2 separate regions of the Homo sapiens genome follow, and region 1 is linked to region 2. The links are contacts of gene promoters, found by promoter capture Hi-C in human tissues and cell types (Jung and others, 2019). All regions are on one chromosome and are shown on one strand. The core of a region is centred on a gene start or on the middle of the fragment in contact, and the rest is flanking DNA. Distances in the headings are between cores, read along the strand shown.

Evidence for each region. The method cuts DNA at HindIII sites, captures the fragments that hold promoters and counts their contacts. A contact is called where the count stands out against the background at its distance.
Region 1: a contact is called between a fragment that was not itself captured here and the fragment with the promoter of MEX3B in region 2, in 1 of the 25 tissues and cell types used here (dorsolateral prefrontal cortex).

What each region holds. Positions count from the first base shown.
Region 1 is chr15:80,421,190-80,425,307 of GRCh38, forward strand. The region is part of intron 1 of ARNT2 (aryl hydrocarbon receptor nuclear translocator 2); the gene reads left to right. Among named protein-coding and RNA genes, the nearest start is that of ARNT2, 19 kb to the left of the region's middle. The HindIII fragment of the contact is 6,048 bases long and covers 1-4,118 here.
Region 2 is chr15:82,044,377-82,048,071 of GRCh38, forward strand. It overlaps MEX3B (mex-3 RNA binding family member B), which reads right to left and starts at 1,642. Exons shown (of 2, transcript NM_032246.6): 1 at 1,074-1,642; 2 at 1-237. The coding sequence starts at 1,329. RefSeq lists silencers at 1,422-1,721, 2,572-2,891 and an enhancer at 1,945-2,891. The HindIII fragment of the contact is 10,437 bases long and covers 1-3,654 here.

The DNA.
Region 1 (4,118 bases), core at 1,038-3,537, 1.6 Mb before region 2:
GAGAGCTAAGCTATGGATGTGCAGGGGCATACAGGGTAGTATAATGGACATTGGAGACTCAGAAGGGTGGAGGGAGTGACGGCTAAAAAACTATATATTGAGTACAATGCACACTACTTGGGCAACAAGTACACTAAAATTTCGGCCTTCACTATACAATTCATCCATGTATCCAAAAACCAGTTGTACCCCTAAAGCTATTGAAATAGAAAGAAAAGAAAGGAAGGAAAGGAGGGAGGGAGGGAGGGAGGGAAAGAAAGAAGGAAGGAAGGAAAGCTGTCATCACAATATTAAAATCAATAAAAATAAATGTTAAAAAGTACTTAATGGTACAAAGAAAGTCATTTTTAACCTATAGTTCACTAGTTTTGAAACAATGCACCGAATGACATTGTATAGGTTATATGAATTGTCTGATGGTAGCTGAGTGCAAACTCCATCTTATTGCTGTATTTTCTCCATCAAATTAAACCCAACTTATTTCTTCCAGCTTGGCTGTTTAAACATTCAGTCTCATCATTTGTTTTGAGGAAGGTGCACCTTTTTCCTAGGGTATTTACGACACCTTGGGCCTTATGCAGCTCAGGAAAATTAGAAGCTAATCTCTGATCTTCTTTTAATTGTGGTTCCTAGTGAGATACTCATTACCAGGTTTCAGGGTCCAGTTGAAGGCAGTCAGCTGGCTGGCAGTCCTTTAGTCCAAGTGGGTGTCAGGAAATTACAGCATTGAAAAATAAACAGAATTAGTAAAGCATGGACGAATTAAATAGCTACTCAACACAGATGAATAGAGAATTAATGACTTAGAAAGTAGAATGAAAGAAATTACAGAGAATTCAGCACAGAATCAGAGTTCAAAAATATAAAAGAGTGGCTGGGAGACAGAGAGGTGAGACCTCCTCCTTCTTATGTAAGTTAGAGTTTCAGGTAGAGATGGTAGGGAGAACAGGGAAGTTAGGTGTATTAAGATTCAAAGAGAAGAGGCTGATACTTTTTCAGAATCGATGAAAGTCATTGAGCCTCAGATTCAGGAGCAACAACAAATTCCAAGCGAGATAAATAAAGAGATATTCAAACCTTAACTAGATGTAGGGAAAATAGAAAATAACAAAGAGAAAAACTTAGAAGCAGTAACAAACAGCAGACATATCACCTATACAGGAGCAGCAATTAGATTGATGAATGACTTCTAAACAGTGATCATGCATGCCAGACGACAATACAATATTTTAATATGCTAGTTGAAAATAATTGTAAACCTAGAATTCTATACTTAGACAATTTATCTTTTAAGAATGAGGAGATAAAACATTTTTAGATAAAAATTTGAGAGGATTTGAGACCTCACTAAAGGAACTTCTGAAGGTGTACTTCTGGAAGATTTAAGTAAGTGACCGCAAATGGAAGTTCTCAGATGCAGTGAGCAAAGGAAATAATGGGCACAAGAATAAAGATAAACATGCTTCGGCTATCAATAATAACAACATGTACTTTGTGAGGTGATCAGAGGTAAAGCTGTGTAGTTTAGAACTATTAAACTTTTACTAAGTAAGTATAATAATATTTCTAGAGTAATAATTAAGGCATATAGAGTATACAACCACCAACATGTGATATTATTCATATTAAATATTTCTACACTTACTTGTATTTATATATGTAAGGAGAAGAGTCTGGATTTACATATACCAAAAAGTTAACCATGATTATCACTTTTTGCGTAAGTGTGTTTCTTAGCCTTTTTGGTCTTGTAATTTATAACAGAATAAAAATTTTAAAAAGAAAACGTGTTCCTAACTTACGTATCATACTTTATATTATGTAGTTAAAAACATTTGCTTTTAAATCAAATGTATGTTGGTTTGCATATTTCAGCTCTGTCACTTAGCTGTGTGACTTCAGGCAGGTTCTTAGCCTCTTTGCTTTGATGTCTTGTAAAATGAGAATAATAATAATAATGATATCCACCTCATAAAGCAGTTGTGTGTACATGAGGGGACACATGAAATGTGTTTCGTGCAGCACCTAATGGCGTCTGTGCCCAGTAAACATTAGCTGTTACCATCAGCGGGTCAACGTCACCATCATCCTAGACCTGAGGATCATTTCCACAAAGAGTTGAGGACTGATGCTCAATGGATCTGTGCAGTGGCAGCATTAAGGAGTTAGTGTGGAAACACACAGGAATTCCTAACCCTAGGAACATGTTGCTTACACTGGGAACGCTCACTATGTGATTATGAGTCACATAATCAGTTATGTCTAATGTATTTTTTCAGTGTCTACTGAGATAAGCATGTGTATATATATATACTTATTTGAACTATTGATAGATTTCCCAAGGTTGAGCTATATGTATCTTCCTGAATAAAAGGCACATAGTAACACTGCATGGTTCTTTTAATATTGTTATTAAAAGATATGATGAATTTGATTTGCTAAGATCCATATTAGTAAGTGAGTTTGCTAATTCCCATCCATTATGAGTAGTGAGATCTTTCTGCAAATATGCTAGAATTTGTAGTGTGGTCAGTGAAGCTTTTGATGATATTTTGTGTGTGTGTGTGAAAGAGAGGGAGAAAGAGGCAGAGAGAGAGAGAGAGAGAGAGAGTCATACTATATTGGTCAAGATTCTTTCAGCTCCAAAGACAGACAGCCCAGTTCAAACTAACTCTTAGACAATCCATAAAGGAATTTTTCATAAAACTGGGATATCCAGGCAAGCGTTTGGCTTCAAGTAAAGATCCAAGAGTGCTAGCAGTTACTTAAGGCACTGTTTCTCTTCCTCGTGGTCCCTTAGCTTTCCCCACCTTGTGTTGGTTTTATTCTCAGGCAGGTTCTACCCAAGTGGTGGCCCAGTTGCATCTTACCAATGAAAACTCCAGCAGGGGTCTTAGGTAGAATAGCCCTGCATGATATTCCTGAACCAGGCCCTGTTGCCAGGGAACACCGTGCTATGACTGACCAGATCTGGGCATGTATACACCCCAGGAACCCTCATGGGGTCAGACTTACCTGGGCCGCAAGGACTGTGGGTGAGAGAGGGAACATTCCTCAGGCAGGGTTCTCTGGGTTGTCCCCAGAAGGGAGACGAGGACAGGACAGGCAGTACAATAGATGTCTATGCCTCGTTGGCAAGGTACTTTTGTGTCACAGGTTTCAGACTTCATCTGGTTTGCACACCACTCCCATGAGGTTTTATTTTGTGACATTTCATTCCCACTTTTATTGGGAAGATGTCCTCATCCAAGATGTTCGGAGGCTGGCCCACTTTGGCAGGATGATAAAGTGGCAAAGTCAGGTCCCTCCTTCCACGGGCTGCTCTTCCAGTCAGATGTTGCCTCTCTCTGAGTGCCTCACAGTCCAGCCATGGCAGTGGTATTGCCCATGTCCCACTTGGTTTTATTATGGCATTCTTTTGTCTGTAATCATCAAATAAAAAATGTACCTGTGGGTGAAAGTCAAAGTGGTTGTATTCTTACTGCTTCACTATTGCCTGGAACCTTTCCCTTTCAGTGGTCTGAGTCATAATTTTTCTTTGGTTTGTTGACAAAACAGTTTATACTGTTTTCTTCCAAAACAGCCCTCAAAAAAAAAAAATAGGTAAACAGAGAATGGATTTCTAATTTGTCTTACCAGTTCAGGCTTCCGGCAGGAATTGAAACCCGGAATCTTTGTTTTGAAGACAGTAAAGTGGGGCTGCCTATATCTATGGCTGCTTTTAAGAATCTGACGTGAATTTTATCCAGTTCCTTGTGCAAAATAAATCCTTTTTTTGTAGCAAAAGGGGTTGAAGTTGAAGGAACACATGAGATAGTCAACAAACGAATTACTAAAATAAAACTATATCATGAACATGCTTGTGCAAACTTGGGATAATAGGCCATATCTGCCCACCTGTGGCCAAGTCTTGGCACACTGGTTTTTGTTTTATCGAAGAGCTGCTCACAGTAGCCTTGTTTCTGTCAAGAAAGATGAGCAGAGACTCAAACATATCTCCGAGTAGCTCACAACAAGAATACCCTTTGGAGGATCCTAGAGTGTTGTGCAGTCTTTGACTTCTGAAATATACAGAAGACTTACTGTTTCTGCAAGTATGGCTCCAAAATGGTGGTCAT
Region 2 (3,695 bases), core at 392-2,891:
CTTGGATGGTGGTCTGCCCGGGCAGGTTGGGCGGCCCAGGCACCGCGCCGTTGAGTGCCGTGTTCTTATTCCGGGAGGCGCGGATCATGGAGAAGTGCTCGGCAGCAGAGATGATCTCCCTCCGAGCCATGGCCACATCCTCCTTCCTGCCCGTCACAACAAAGACAGGCTCCTCCCCGCGAACTGGGGTCTTGATGTAAGTATTGGTCTTCGCCCGCAGCGCTTTGATTTTACAACCTACGAACCAGGGTGCGGAGGAGGGAGTGGGAGAGAGAGACAGACACGCCCATTATCCTGGGGTAACCGCGGGGACCGGGGACAGCCCGCGTCCAGGACAGCGAGACGGCAGGACAAGAGATGGGCGGAAAGGGGGCGTCTCCCTCACTGACCTCGGGCCGCGCCACGGGCTGGGCAGCGGATCCCACCCGCGAGGCGCTCGAGGAACAGCCCATTGGCTGCCTGGCCCTCCCCCAGTGACTGCAGTCGTCCCGAACCAAACCCGAGAATCCCAGAAAAGTCATCTGGGGAGATGCCGCTGGGATCCAGCTGGGCGCGCCGTCAGCTCTGAAGACACGGGGAAGGGGCTCGGGGAAGGCAGCTGAAGTCGCGATGCCTCAGCGCTGGTCGACTGGGGGTAGGGGGTGGGGTGTGAGTCCCGGGACCCATTGTTCCTCCTCTGGGCTCCATTCCGCTTTGCAGAAATCCAGAATCCTCCTCCCATCCTATGCTCACTCCTCCTCCTTCCTCCTCCCAAAGGACTGATCAAAGGCCCCCTCCCCCAAGCATCTTACATTTAAATTGTCTTTCTGGAGGTGGGCTGGTTGGGGGGCGTTAGGGGAGAAGGCAGTGATTTTAGCAGAAGAAAGTGCATCCCGCCAGGGCAGCGGCGCGGCTCCGGGAGACAGCCTGCCTGCACTTTCTTTGTCTGGGGCGCCGGCCCATCGCGCGGCTCTTCCTCTCTCCCCAAGGCACCCCACGCCGCGGATCCCGATACTGAACACGCCTTCCCCTCGAGGCAGTGGCCTGAGACCCTACACCACCCCCACCCACCTCCCCATCCCTCCTCGACCTACCTTGCCGCCCCACGATCTCGGCGACATGCTCAGAACTGGGTACTGGCACGCACTCGGTCATGTTCACGCTCTTCTTGCGCGGCTCGCTGTCGTACAGAGAGGCGCCCTCGTCACTGTCCAGCCCCAGCAGGGAGAGCTGGTCGAGCGCGAGCTGCAGGGCTCTTTGGTCATCCAGGGTCTCTCCCCCTCCGCTGCTGCCGCCGCCGCCGCCGCCGCTGCCGTTGCGCTCCAGGTCTGCGAACAGCGAGCTGGGCATCGCTCGGCCGTGCGCGCCGCGCCCCCGCCGGCCCTCGGCTCGGCGGCGAGAAGCTGCGGCCACAAAGGCAGCCGGGAAGCGGGTGGTCAGGGGCGGGGAGGCCGGTCGCCTGCTGAGGGCTCCGTTGCTTCTTCCTCGGTGCTGGGAGGAGTGGGTCGCTCCGTGCGGTCCGCACCGGGCAGTGGCTGCAGGAGCCCCCACCTGGGTCCCCACCCCAGACCTGCTGGCGGGTGGGGTGGGGGCAGAGCTCTAGCGGTGGCCGCGCGTGCCCCCCGAGTGCCCGGCTGGCTGGCCGCAATGCCGAGCGAAAAGCGAGCAGGCGAGCGACAGAAGCGTTTCTTTAAGGAGCCCCTCCCCGGCTCCTCCACTCCCTCCCTCCCGCCCGCCCGCCCGCCCTCACTCAGCGCTTTTTCCTCCTCTCCTCCCCGCCTCTTGACTGAGCCTCTGCAGCCAGACGACTCCGGAGGGGGACGAGGGAGGCGCAACGTCACAGGCGGGAGCTGACACCACAATGCTACTGACACTATCGCTGGGGGAGGCGATTGGCGCGCGCCAGGCCGGGGGCGGGAGGAGGCCGCGGGTTGAGCGAGCGGAGAGAGAGCGCCACCCCCCACCCCCGCGCTCGCCGCAGCCCGCCCCGTCCTCCTCCCGGCCGCGCCCCTCCCCCGCCGCCGCTAACGCCTCTCTTTGTTGTCTAATGCGGGACTGGCAGGCTCGGGACACTTGGATGTACCTATCAGCCGAGGACAATCATTGTCCCTAAGTCTCCTCCCTCGCCTGACTGAGAAAAGAAAACGCGCCCAACTCTGATGCCTGGAGCCGGGCTCTAAAAGAGCGGTCCTCAGGAAGTCCCGTTAGTGGCTCCAAATAAACCATCCGTGGAGCCAAAGCTTCCTCTGTGAGAAGAGTCTGTAGTCCGCCCAAAAGGGCGACCCGAGCCCTCCGACACGGAAAACGGGACTCCAGGTCTTGGGGCGCACGGGCAGAGTGACTCCCGGCGCGGGTTGTCCACCTGCGCGGGAGCGCACGAGACACAAAAGCACACGCCCGCCCACACTGGCAACCGCGCGCGCGCGCGCCCGCGCCTGCATTTCTGTCTCCTTGGGCAGCACTTCGCCCAACTGGCCCTGAAACTGAGGATGGGAAAGCTAAAAGCTGGCTGCCGCGCGAGCTCGGCCCGCCCGGCCGCTGGCGACCTCTGGAATGCATGGCACCAGTGTCCAGCACACGCCCGGCGCCCGGGCCGAGACCCTGCGGGTTCTGACACGCGCACGAGCGCCGCGCCGCCACCGCGGGGACGCAGGCCACAGCGCCAGCGGGCGGCGCGGGCGTGCGCGCCCGCTGTTCCCATCCCTCCCCTCCGTGCCCCGCGGCCGAGCATGCGCAGTGCGCGCGAGGAGCGGGCGGGCCCTTTAAGGCGGGCGCTGCGGAGCGCGCGCCGGCCCCGCCCGCGGCCCCGCCCCGACGGGAGGTGAGCGCTCCCTGCCCGGCCGCTCTTTGTGCGCTTCTCGGGGTGGGGGTGGCGGCAGAGGGAGGTTGCGACGGCACTTGCCGGCGAGGACGGCGAGCTGCGCCCCCTCCCGGATCTCCCAGGGACCGTCTCCGAGTGCGAGAGAGAAGGAAGGAGGATTTGAGGGGCGGGCCGGGGCGGTGCGCGCTGGTCCTCTCCGCGCGCATCCCCCTCCGCCGCCCACTAGGGCGGACGCCCCTTCGGGCCCCGCGCGCTCTGCTGTCCTTTGTTCCGGGAGCCGCCGGGCTCGCCGCGCCCTTTGCGTCCCGCTGCGGATCGTTCCGCAGAGCGGCTGGGCCCGCGGTTCATAGAGTCGCCCAAGATCCTCACAGAGGGACGTCTTCCCAAAACAATGAGGCCATGCGGCCGCAGCCGCACACGGGCTGACTGGGGAGATCTCGTGGTGCCGCGGGGCGGTCCCGGGGCTCGAAGGCAGAGGCTCCCCTAGGTGTGCCCTGCCTGACCCCGGCTACAGGAACGAGCGCTGTGGGCCTCGGTTTCTCACCCGTAAAATGAAGAAAATAATCCCCGCCTTTACCACCTCGTGGGTCGTTCGGAAGATTAAATGCGACAGTGGATGGGCGCGCGCTTACAAATCAGTAGACAGTTCCGCAAGCGCCTTTACTTTTGAGAACGCGGTGGTGCAGCTCCCTTCACCGCTTGCTTACCTGGAGCTGTCTTGGGAAAGAGGTGCTGATTATTTCCTTGGGGAAATGGGTTTAGAAGCCACTTACAGTGGTTATTTCCTCAGGATGTTTACGTCAGCTTCCCGGAGCCTGGTGTGTGTTTTTCTTAAAAAGGAATGTTCGATGGGAGGAGGCAGGTGGGAGGATGGTGCCGAGTCCTCCGTGAAAAC